Linked DNA regions of Homo sapiens: all the other regions are linked to region 1. The links are contacts of gene promoters, found by promoter capture Hi-C in blood cells and fetal thymus (Javierre and others, 2016). All regions are on one chromosome and are shown on one strand. Each heading gives the region's core, a stretch centred on a gene start or on the middle of the fragment in contact. The rest is flanking DNA. Distances are from core to core; before and after follow the strand shown.

Region 1 (4,065 bases), core at 460-2,959:
TTTAAGGTCTTTAATTCAATAAAAATTGTAAGAAAAAATGAAGGGACTACAAATAGTGTGTGAGGTCTTTGCAATTATATTAGCTAGTGCTTAAAACACTAGATGAAGGGCATATTTTCATGATCAACCATTTAATAATTAACTATCTTAATTAAATTTTCACGATTAAGTATTTAAATTAATGACATTCTCCAAACACCATACATGTCAAGACACAGTCCAACTAACGCAAATCCTGATAAGCTCTTCCATCCCAGGAAAAAAAAGTATCCACAAACACAATCACATACCTAAATAATAAATGTTTGGTGCCACCCAGCCACCATAGGGTAACTCTTGCAAATGATTTGAGGCTTCATGGTTTCCCCCAATGAAGAGCGTGAGAACTGGAGCCTTTTTCTCTCCAGAGTAATACCTAGAACATAAGAGCAAAGTCAGTTACCACAATTAGGCATAGCAGAAAAGCAAATAAGTTCCGAAAAAAAAAAAGAAACTGAGTTCATCATAAAAAGTTAAAAAGCTCTTTCAAAAGGAATTGCCTGGGGCTGGGCGCGGTGGCTCCCTCCTGTAATCCCAGCACTTTTGATGGCCGACACAGGCGGATCCCCTGAGGTCAGGAGTTCGAGACCAACCTGGCCAATGTGGTGAAACCCCGTCTCTACTAAAAATGCAAAAATTAGCTGGGTGTAATCCCAGCTACTCGGGAGGCTGAGGTGGGAGAATCGCTTGAACCCAGGAGACGGAGGTTGCAGTGGGTCAATATCGCGGTACTGCACTCCAGCCTGGGCAACAAAGCGAAACTCTGTCTCAAGAAAAAAAAAAAAAAAAAAAAAAGGAATTGCCCAGTATCCATCCTTGCCCTTAGGAATGAAGAGCTTCCACCTTGAGCCTCAAGTCAGTGCCCGTTCAATTAAGTCAAGAACTGTTTCGAGTTCATTGCCATAACCTCATCTTCTAGAACCACAACAAGCACATAGCAGGGGCCCAGTAAAAACTTCAGGATCATTGAATGAACTAATTCCAGAGTCCTATCAAGTACAAGGTAGCTATCTAAACCTGTCAGCTTCTTCCTCCAGGTTATCCCCTCCCAGGCTTCGACACCCTTTGAAATGGATAAGATGTGTATGGAAAGAAGGAAAGTGACATTTCCTAAGCACCTAATGAGATAGGGTGCTAGTGAAACTGACATAATTTGGTACCTAACTGAATACAGTACCGAACTGAATACATTTCCCGCCTCCCACTACCTCACCCCTGTATTCAGTTAGGCACCAATTAGAGATACAGAGAGAACAAAGACAGGATCTAAGGGAAACAGGCAGCCAGTGGCAGAGGGAACCCAGTCCCACCCCCCCACCGCCAAGTCCGGGCCCGGCCGCGTCCTCACCTGTAGAAGGTTTGCATGTGACGATACTTGGGCGGCACGGCCATGCAGCGTAGATCCGCCTCGTTGCGCACCGCCTGGAAGTCGCCGCAGCACAGCAAGAGGTCGACAGGCCCCGGGCCGCGCCGCTCTGCCAGCGCCAGCGTCTCATAGATCTTATCCAGCTCGCCGTGGCAGCAGCCAGCCACAGCCACCCGCATTCTGCCGGCCTGAGGAGGTGAGCGCTGCCTGCAACGCCCTACACCACAGCCAGCCCAGGACCGACTGATCGCTCAGCTCCCGCCAACTTTAATAAGTATAGCCACCGCCTGGGTGTAGACTCCTGCAAAATAATTCACTTCCGGTTTCCAGATCTCGCGAGAGAGGGACCGGGAAGGTCAAACCTAATTCTGGGATCCCAGGGAACTTATTTTCTTTTTTTCCTTTTTTCTTTTTTTTTAATTATTGTTTTATGCAGTCAATATTTTTTTGTATATACATCCACAAATGTACTCTTTCCATCCTTACTCTTTTCTTCCTGGATTTCCATTTTTCTCTTTGGAATCATTTTTCTTCTGTCTGAAGAGCTCAGTTTAAGTTTTCCTGTTTGTTTAGTGTAGGCCGACGACAGATTAATTTTTTTCTAGATATTTGTTTGTTTAAAAATTTCTTTCCACTCTGGGGAAAATGGTGAAACCCTGTCTCTACTAAAAATACAAAAATTAGCTGGGCGCAGTAGCGCACGTCTGTAATCACAGCTACTTCAGAGGCTGAGGCAGGAGAATCCCTCAAACCCAGGAGACGGAGGTTGCAGTGACCTGAGATCGCGCCCCTGCACTCCAGCTTGGGCGACAGAGCGAGACTCCGTCTAAAAAAAAAAAAAAGAGACAAAAGAGAAAGAGAGAGAGAAGAAAAGAAAAGAAGCCAGTGTGCTGGCTCACACCTGTAATCCCAGCACTTTGGGAGGCAGAGGCGGGCGGCTCACGAGGTCAGGAGTTTGAGACCAGCATGGCCAACATGGTGAAACCCTGTCTCTACTAAAGATACAAAAAATTAGCTGGGCGTGGTGGCGCACACCTGTAATCCCAGCTACTTGGGAGGCTGGGGCAGGAGAATCGCTTGAACCCAGGAGGCAGAGGTTGCAGTGATCTGAGATCGTGCCATTGCACTCCAGCCTGGGTGACAGGGTGAGACTCCGTCTAAAAAAAAAAAAAAGAAAAAGAAAGAAAGAGATGTCTTTGTTTCACCTTAATTCATAAAGGGTGTGTTTACTGAGTACCGAATACCAGTTAAGCAGTGTGTGTGTGTGTGTGTGTGTGTGTGTGTGTGTGTGGTTTTTTTTTTACAAAGCATTTCAAAAATAGCATTCTATTATCTTCTGGCTTGCATTATCTTCTACTGAGAAGTCACCTATAAACTTAAGGTTTTTTTTCACTGAAAGTAATGTGGGTTTTTTGTTTGTTTGTTTGTTTTTTGTTTTTTTGAGACGGTCTCTCACTCTGTTGCCCAGGCTGGAGGCAGTGGCACGATCTCGGCTCACTGCAACCTCCGCCTCCCCAGTTCAAGCGATTCTCCTGCCTCAGCCTCCCAAGTAGCTGGGATTACAGGTGCACACCACCATGCCCAGCTAATTTTTTGCATTTTTAGTAGAGACAGGGTTTCACCATGGTGGCCAAGCTGGTTTCGAACTCCTGACCTCAAGTGATACGCCCACCTCGGCTTCCCGAAGTGCTAGGATTACAGGCGTTAGCCACCGCGCCCAGCCAGTAATGTGTCTTTTTCTTTGCTATTTACTGTTTTCTCTTTCTCTACTTTCTCTCCCTACTCCTTAAAGCTATTTTAATAAAATATATCTAGGTGGTTTTTTTTTTGAACTTTACTCATTTATGCTTTCTGAATCTATAGCTTGGTATCTTTTTTCAGTTTTGGAATATTCTTGGTCAGTATCTACTTAAATGTTGCTTTTTTTTCTGTCTTTTCCTACTCCTTTGGAATTTTTCCATGGTATTTTACCTATCTTTTATTTCTATTCCATAGTTCTCATTTTTATCAGTGTTTTATTTTGGATAGTTTCTAATAACCTCTCTTCTAGTTTACTAATCCTATTTTGTTCTATGTCCAATGTACAAACTCATTTATTAATGTTTTAACATTATAGTCCTTTTCAATTTTAGGATTTATATTGGATTCTTTTCCAGTGAAGCCAATAGTTTAAAGAGATTCTTTATCTTTTAATTTATTTCCTTCATCTTTTCCTCTCTTTCTCTCATATATTAATCATTGTTATTTTAGGTTGCCTGTCTTCTAAGCCCAATATCTTACTTATCTGCAGAGCTGATTCTATTGTCTGTTTCTGTTTCATTGGATTCTTAGTTTAAAAATCTCGTTTTTTGGCCGCGGTGACTCCCACCTGTTGTCCCAGCACTTTGGGAGGCCAAGGTGGATGGATCTCTTGAAGCCAGGAGTTCGAGAGCAGCCTGGCCAACATGGTGAAACCCTGTCTCTACTAAAAATAAAGAACTTAGCTGGGGGTGGTGGCGCATGCCTGTAATCCCAGCTACTTGGGAGGCTGAGGCGGGAGAATCGTTTGAACTCGGGAGGCGGAGGTTGCAGTGAGCCGAGATTGCGCTGCTGCACTCCAGCCTGGGCTACAGAGTGAGACCCTGTCTCAAAAAGAATAAATAAATAAATAAATATCTCGT
Region 2 (4,065 bases), core at 1,073-3,572, 170 kb after region 1:
TAAAAGCAGTATAAAGACATCTCTTTGACTCTTGCATAGATGTTGGCTCAGCTCAAGCTGAGGGCATGGTCAGGGTCTTGTGCCAGTCAGGGCCCAAGAGAGGACATCTCTTACATGGGGAGCCCACGAGGGGCTGACAGGCCACCAGGATGTACAGATCCCTGCCCGCCTTCCCAAGTTCTGTGGTAAATAGAGGGGGTTGAGGGAGTCAGGTTCCAGGGCAAACCTAGACAGTCGAGGTAAACTACTGTCCCTCAAGCCTTCTCCCCAACCAGGTCTTTTACTCCCTACTGCCAAGGAGAGATACTCTTGATGGCACCCAACCTGCTGTCCCCTTCCTGGGGGACACTTGGGGTCTACAGGGTCTTTGGAGCAGCAGGTGGGAGTGGAGGCACAGGGGGTGCACAGCAGCTCCCACCAAATGGCTGCATGGGTGGCTGGGATGCCAAAGGAAGCCTGCATGGGATTAAGAGCCTCAGCATGGCAGGCAGAGCCAGCAGCACTGTGAGGCTCCCTTAGGCCTGGGGCAAACCTGAGAAGGGAGTGGGTTCCCTGGACATGTAAAGCTGGTTCTAAGTCATTGAGGTCCACCCAGAAAAAGAATGTCCTCAGAAATGATGCTGACAATCAAAACCACAATGAAATGCCATTTCGCCCCCAATAGGATGACTAGAATAAAAAAAGACACACAATTACAAGTGTTTGCAAAGATGTGGAGATATTGGAACCCTCATATGTTGTTGGTGGGAATGTAAAATGGTGCAGCTGCTTTGGAAAACAGTTTGGCAGTTCCCCCAAAAGTTAAACATGGAGTTAACATATGATCCAGGAATTCCACTCTTAGGTATATACCCAAGAGAAAGAAAAGCATATGTTCATACAAAGACTTGTACATGAATATTCATAGCAGCTTTATTCACAGTAGCCCCAAAGCAGAAAACTAAATATCCATCAAGTGATGCAGGGATAAACAAAACGTATAGACATACAGTGAAATATTACTCAGTCATGAAAAGGAATGAAGTACTGCTACATGTTACAACATGAATAGATCATTAAACATTGGTTACTGAAAGAAGCTAGTCATAGTCACAAAAGGCCACATGTTGTATGATTCCGTTTATAGAAAATGTCCTGAATAGGGAAATCCATAGAGATTGAAAGTAGATTAGTGGTTCCCAGAGGCGGAGGAAAGGGGTGAATGAGGAGTGACTGCTAACGGGTAGTTCTTTTTGTGAGGGGCAGGGGAGGGGAGTGGGAAGTGGTGAAAATGTTCTGGAATTAGCTCATGGTGATGGTTGCAAAACTTTGTGAATATGCTAAACACCACTGAATCGTACACTTTTTTTTTTTTGAGACAGCGTCTCACTCTGTTGCCCAGGCTAGAGTGCAGTAGCGCAATCTCGGCTCACTACAACCTCTGCCTCCCGGGTTCACGTGATTCTCCTGCCTCAGCCTCCCGAGTAGATGAGATCACAGGCACGTGCCGCCATGCCGGGTTGACTTTTGTATTTTTAGTAGAGACGGGGTTTCACCATGTTGCCTAGGCTGGTCTTGAACTCCTGACCTCAGGCGATTCACCCGCCTCGGCCTCCCAAAGTGTTAGGATTACAGGCGTGAGCCACCGCGCCCGGCTTGAATTGTACACTTCAAAAGGTGGAATTTTATGGTGTTGAATTATATCTTTATTTTTTTAACGGGGGGAAAATGACGCCGCTGGAGAGGAGTTAGCGGAACTGAAACAATGAAATGGTGCGCGAGTGTCGCCTGTCCCCGTCGCATCCATCCCAACGAAGTTTGGGCCCTGGAACGGTGCACCCAGAAGGCCTGCGGGGAGAGACGCTGGGGCATGATCTGGAAGAAAGACGTCTCAGGATTCGAAGGGAATGCAGCTAAGGTGGCGGCGGAGGTTCGCCTAGGACTGGGGAGGCGTCCCTAGGCTCAGAAGTTGGCCCGGCCGGAGCGGAGATTTAAAGGTTGGAGCGCAGAGGCTCTTAAAGAGGCCGAGTCGAATTCCCACTCGGCGTCCACCTTAAAGCCAGCTCCCCGGCACCACGGATCTGACCCGGGTAAGTGCTGGGCCGCGGGAGAGGCTGCGGCGCCGACCCCAGCCCCTGGCGCTCTAGCGCGCCCTGCCGGGCCCAGGGGACTCGGCGCGGGTGGGCTGGACTTCGTAGGCGCGCGTCCTGGGGGCCGGGGTGCACGCGGGGGCGACAGGGTCGAGGCACCCGGCCCGGGCTCCCCACTGGCGCGCCCGCAGCGGCGCTCTATTTTTAGCAGGCGCTGTGGCAATATAAGGAATGCGCGGCGCGCTAGGCGCTCGGGGCGCACGCTGGCGGCGCGGTCGCTTTAAGGAGGCGCCGGGGCGGGGACGGACCGGAGTGGCCGGCTGGCGGGGAGCCGTCAGTCCGGCGGCCGCGGGGCCCGGCGGGCGCGACGCTGCCTCCTCACCGGCGCAGGCTAGGAGGGGGCGGCCTGAGTGCCGTAGCCGAGCCGGGGCTGGAGCGCGCGGTGAGTGGTCGGGCGGCCTTGGAGGGGAGGGGGCCCGGCCGCGCCGCCTCTCGCCCCGGCCGTCGCTTTGTTCCGGGGCGGGAGGTGTGGCCGCCCTCCGGGCTCGGCCGCGCTCTCCGCTTGCGGGGTGCGCCCTGGGACCGGCTGTGCGTGGCGTTTTGCCCCCATCGCGGGCTCCCGCGTAACGGTGTGCGTTCGTGAAATCGGCCACGACCAAGACCCCAGTGGGGAGGGCCTGCGCGCCGCTCAGAGAGACCCTTTCATGGTAATTACAGTTCCTTGGCTGCCTGGGCGAGAACCCGGTGGATAGATGGGCGGCAGGACGGGGCGGCGGGGGATGGGTGGGTGGGTGGGGGACTCTTTACCCCCCCGCCTTAAGATGGCGTTAACGAGGGGAGGGATCCGCCAGGGAGTTGACAAATTCATCTGAATAATAAAACGCAGCCTGCTTCATAAACAACCCTTCACTGCCCCCGGAGGTTTGGGGAGCTGGAGCTGTGGTCACAACTAGGGCCTGGGCTCATGCATTGAACTGATCTGGCTGAGGCATCAGACACGGTGCCAGTCCTGCCCTGCGGGGAAGACAAGAGCACAAAGTGACAAGCCAGTGTGGTAAGTGCTGAGATTCGGTAAGCCCAGGGGTTGTGGGAGCCCCTAGGGGTCCCTACTGCAGAGTGGGAGGTGAGAGAAGGCCGCCTAGAGGAGTTAATGTCTGGCTGGCCGCAGCGTATACACTGGACACCCAGTTAGACTCTGGCTAGAGCTGAGGTCTGTTCTGGCCTGGGGCAAAGTGGAGTCTGGAGAGGTGGACAGAGTCCATCAAGGCCACTGGGGCCTTGATCATAGAGCTCTGCCATTGCCCCTACTCCCCAATGGCCCCTGATGGTGTGGAACCTCCCTGGCCTTGCTCCTCTAGGACTCACTCTGTCCTGGACCTGACCAGAGAGGGTGGCTGACAAGGCTCGGAATCGTGGCCTCCAGAGGTTTGTCTGGCAGCAGAAGTAAGATGGAGATATGACTTTAAGAGCTCTGAAACTCCACTGTAATAACAGCAACCAACAGGGCTTCCAAAGACCAGGCACTTGAAGTGGATTTGCTCATCATTTGACAAGACACCTCTTGACAAGACACCTCCAGAAGGATTTTGTTTATTGTAAAGGATGGAGGAACTGGGGTGAAAAAGAGCCAACAGCTTGCCCAAGATCATATCTGAAGTCCATGCTTTTGGCCACGTGGCTGTCCTGGGCTTCGGAAGGCTCTGGTGCAGCCTGTGTTAGAGTTTTGTAATATATTGTTTTATAATTATTCACTATAGACATTCACTGGTGGGTTGAAGTGTGAGGCAGTGAGCTGTGGGTATTAATAACTGACTCGTGTCAGAAGCTTAGCAGTGAACAAAGCACTTTCTCGGATACGGTTCTTAGAGCTTCTCCTGCTTCTTTTCCCGGGGAAGAAACTTGAGCTGCTAACATTTTGTAAACCTCCTAATTTCCTGTAAATCACATGTCCCTGCTGAGTGGGGCTGAAAATGTTTCGGGCAATGGTTTTCACCCT
Region 3 (4,065 bases), core at 863-3,362, 150 kb after region 1:
GTAGAAGACGGGAGGGGAGGCTGCTCGCTCTCCTCCTTTCAGCAGGAGGGAGCACTTAGTTTGAGTACTGCATTGTACTCAGAGCTCTGAGTAATACACATGAAAAAATAACAACATTGCTAACAAAAGTTATTACCCCCATAGGAGCTCTAGGGCATCAACACATGAAATGACCATAATATGGGGCAATAACATTAGAGACACCACAGACAACATCAGACCAGCCAGGAAGTGTCTAAAGGAGTCTCATCACAGCTCTGCAGGCGTTACAGGACAGGTATCATCCCTCCTGTCTACGTAAAGGATACGGAGGCCAGAGAGTTGAGGAAATGAGTCACACAGCAATGAATGGTAGGACCAGTTGATCAGAATTTACTTCAACCAGAACATTCACGTATGAAGTGGCTTCTGACTCTAGAATCCTAGAATATCAAGGCTGGAAGAAGGCCCTTAGGGATAATTCACACAACATCCTCATTCCATAGATGGGCAAGCTATAGCCTGGAGAGGTTATGTGATGTAGTCAAAGACACAGTTGGCTATAGAGGACACAAGAACTACATCAGGTCTTCTGACTTCCAGTCTAAAAATCCCACCCCACCCCACCCCACACCCCTCCCACCCCCAGCATGGGGTACCCTTAGAATGATGCTGCTTTCCCCTTTCCTCTTTTTTAAACCACTAGGCTTTTGAAATCCACATGCAAACTGCTGGTCCTGCTGAGGACAATAAGAGAGAAACCAGATGTCTCAAAACCACTAATGCTCTATTATCTAGGAGGCGCTGTAGCCTTGGTATGCATCTTACTGGGGCCAGCTGATGATGAGGCATTTTAAGTTCGTTTTAAAATGTTCCCATGTTGCAGATCATCCAGCTGATCTCCTTATGACCAAGCACTCTCTCCTAATTCCAGGGTCTATGCCTGCATGTTTTTACCATCACTTCAGAATCAACCACTATCTATTGTCCAGGACCAAGAAGAAGAGCAGCTGCTGGCTTCTGAATTCACTTGTCCCACATGCAAATGAAGTAAGACACTCTATATAACATATGTCCAGCACATAATATATCTCAAAACATATTTGTTAATAAGTGAAATTTGATGAGAACAGTGGTGGGAAAACTGGGTCTCCACAGAGCACACAGTTACAGACTCATGCCCAAAGTCAAAAGAACCTATACTGTATTCTCTGTGCAAGCTGCAGTTGTATTTCAACAAGAACAAAATAACGGTCACATCGAGTTATGTTGATTCGTATTTTCTTAGTTTATAGTTTTATTTAATGCATGTTTAGGTTTTATGGTTGTATAAGCACTATAAATGTAAACAGCTTCTACTCAGTTTTGTTTGCATTAATTTTGTTTGCGTAAAATTTGTCATCACTGGGGTTCCAAGATAAGTTTTGTCCCTTTAAGACGGAAGGGTACATCACTCAAGTTTGAGAACACTGTCACGTACTGCTGGCAAACAGAATGTCACTTTTATACTGCAACCCCGCTCTAATCACCCTCCTCTTCCCCGAGCCCAACCCAGAGCTGGAAGCTAGCGCCCCTTGAGGCTTACCTGCAGGGCAATTTCCTTCTTCCTGCTGCCCATGGCTCTGCAAAGAAGACGAAGCCCTGTTACCGCGGCCGTGGGCCGTTCCCCCGCAGCCTCGCGACAAACCGCTGCGTGGATCAGCAAGCCCAGAGCCTCCTTCAGACAAGCCCCCCTCCTACGGCCCCCGGCCCCTTTTTAAGGTGCTTCTAACTGGCGGCAAATCAGCACACTGATACAAAGTGAACACCCCGCGAGGAAGCGGAGCCTGCAGTCCACGGGCTCGTGGCTCGCCGGGCGGTTTTCTGGGGATCTGCGAAGCCCCCTCCCCACCCCGGAGCCGGCCAGGGGGCGCGCGCAGAGGCCGGAGTCAGTGCGCCGGGCGCGGTGCAGCCTGTCGGGCACAGGGTCGCCAGTCGAGGAATTCTGACAAAAAAACGACATGGGACCCTGTTATCCCTGCTGTTCTTATGGATTACTGGGAAAGTGAGCCACTGCGAACGACAGGTACAAGATCTTCGACGCGCCCGGAGTCACCAACCGAGTCTGCCGCGACCTAGCCGCGGTCGTCATGGCAACCTGGCCCCCCCGCCAGGCCTGCCAGGAAAGCCGGCGGACACGTAAGCCACGCCCACTCTGGGCCCAACGCAGTCTCTCCGCGGAGGCTCTGAACCCAGCCAGGGAGAGGCAGGAGGGAGTCCCGCCCCTTGCCCTCCATATCGGACCATAGGAACCCACTCATTGGCTGCAGTGTTTGTCAGCGTCTGGAGGCTTCGAACCCACCAAGCAAAGACCCAGTGCATCTGTGCGTTGCACAGTCGCATCTGTGAATCCCTGCATCCCTCCTGCCCTGCCTGCCAAGACTGATGTGCAGCTTTTCTACCATCACATACCGGTATAATGTGTGCAAGGTGGGGGGTGTCTCCAGGTTTTGAGGGATCTGCAAGCGTTCTCTTTAAGGCAAAGAATATGAAATTACAAATTCAAAATTAGATATGAAAGTCAAGTGAGACACATACAAAACAGTTACAGACATTGTAGATATTAATCCAACTGTATCAATAACCACTTTAAATGTGAATAATCTGATTACACCAATTAAAAAAGAGATTGTCAGAATGGATTTCAAAAACAAACAAAGCCCAATCGTGTGTTATCCACAAGAAAATACATTAAAAGCAAAAGGATAGAGAAAGCTATACCAGGCTGACACTAATTAAAAAAATAGCTGAAGTAGGTATGTTAATTTCAAGAAAAGCAGACTTCAGAACAAGGAAATTTATCAGGTATAAACAGGGACATTACATAAAGTTAAAGGGATCAGTTATTTGGGAAGACATAACAATACTTAATATGTATGTACTTAAAAACAGAGCACCGAAATATGTGAGGCAAAAGAAGATAAAACTGCAAGGAAAAATAGGTAAACTCAGTATTATAATAGAATGCTTTCATACCATTTTTAAAAAGTAATTAATACATCCAGCAGAAGCAAATGAGCAAGGATATAGTTGAACTGAAAAATATCAAATTGATCTAATTGACATTTATGCAATATTTAGTTCAACAACAGCGGAATATAGATTCTTTCTCAAGCTCACATGGGACATTCACTGAGATAGACCACAATCTAGGCCATAAAACATAGCTTAACAAATTTAAAAGGATAGAACAAAGTATGTTCTCTGACTGCAATAGAATTAAACTAGGAATCAATCACAGCTGATGAAAGAGATCTCACAGATTTAAATAAATGAAGAAATATTCCGTGTTCATGGATAGGAAGAATTAATATTGTTAAGATATCAATTCTTCCTAAGTGAAGCATACACCAAATGATTTCCATCCAGGGAGTGCTGATACCCTGTTTGGCCATGAGGTACCCAGCAACCCTCTGTGAAGTACAGGGCGATGGGTATACTGGAGACCGAACATCTTCCTACCTGTCATCCTGCCTTCTCCCACTTCAGCTCCGAATCCACCTACTCTTTTCTTGCATTCAGTCCCATGGCAATATTCAGTTCCATGATAATATTACGCAGAGCCACAGGCAGTCCTTAAGACACCACATTGCAAACTGAGTTGACTAGATGCAAATCATGTTCATTGCCACAAGGTGGTGGTTGCTGAAGCTCTTGAATGGTGTGGAATCTCCCTTAGAATTTAGTTTCCAAAATAAAATTCAAATCAGATGCTAAATTCCTCTTGCCAGCACATGGAAAGATAGTGACATTTATTCTTTCTGAAAGGGTTAAATTTCTTACCATGTGGTCTCTATTACAAAATGTACTCACATCTTTGCCAGGCTAAACCTCAGAAACAAATTTAGGTAAACCACATGTCCCAGTTTGCCTGGGACACCCCCACTTTTCACCTGTTGTCCCATGCAATTATTAATAGCAACCCCTCTCACTTTCAAAAGTGTACAGTTTGGGTAGGGTGCAGTAGCTCACGCCTGTAATCCCAGCACTCTGGGAGGCCGAGGCAGGTGGATCACTTGAGGGCAGGAGCCTGGCCAACATGGTGAA

Evidence for each region. Contacts are between HindIII fragments. The CHiCAGO score rates a contact against its expected background, and 5 or more counts as called.
Region 2: a contact is called between the fragment with the promoter of MRAS here and the fragment with the promoter of DBR1 in region 1, in 4 of 17 cell types (non-activated CD4 T cells, naive CD8 T cells, naive CD4 T cells and 1 more). The highest score is 6.3, in non-activated CD4 T cells.
Region 3: the fragment with the promoter of NME9 here is called in contact with the fragment with the promoter of DBR1 in region 1 in 4 of 17 cell types (erythroblasts, non-activated CD4 T cells, naive CD8 T cells and 1 more); the score reaches 7.1 in erythroblasts.

Annotation. Positions count from the first base shown.
Region 1 is chr3:138,173,212-138,177,276 of GRCh38, forward strand. DBR1 (debranching RNA lariats 1) reads right to left here and starts at 1,710. Exons shown (of 8, transcript NM_016216.4): 1 at 1,388-1,710; 2 at 291-415. The coding sequence starts at 1,584. RefSeq lists an enhancer at 1,416-1,625. The HindIII fragment of the contact is 14,113 bases long and covers 1-4,065 here.
Region 2 is chr3:138,346,257-138,350,321 of GRCh38, forward strand. It overlaps MRAS (muscle RAS oncogene homolog), which reads left to right and starts at 2,323. Exons shown (of 6, transcript NM_001085049.3): 1 at 2,323-2,511. RefSeq lists an enhancer at 1,835-2,790. The HindIII fragment of the contact is 4,446 bases long and covers 1-3,892 here.
Region 3 is chr3:138,327,739-138,331,803 of GRCh38, forward strand. NME9 (NME/NM23 family member 9) reads right to left here and starts at 2,113. Exons shown (of 11, transcript NM_001349018.2): 1 at 1,565-2,113. The coding sequence starts at 1,597. It overlaps LOC124909438 (a long non-coding RNA gene), which reads left to right and starts at 2,195. Exons shown (of 2, transcript XR_007096113.1): 1 at 2,195-2,432. The HindIII fragment of the contact is 16,828 bases long and covers 1-4,065 here.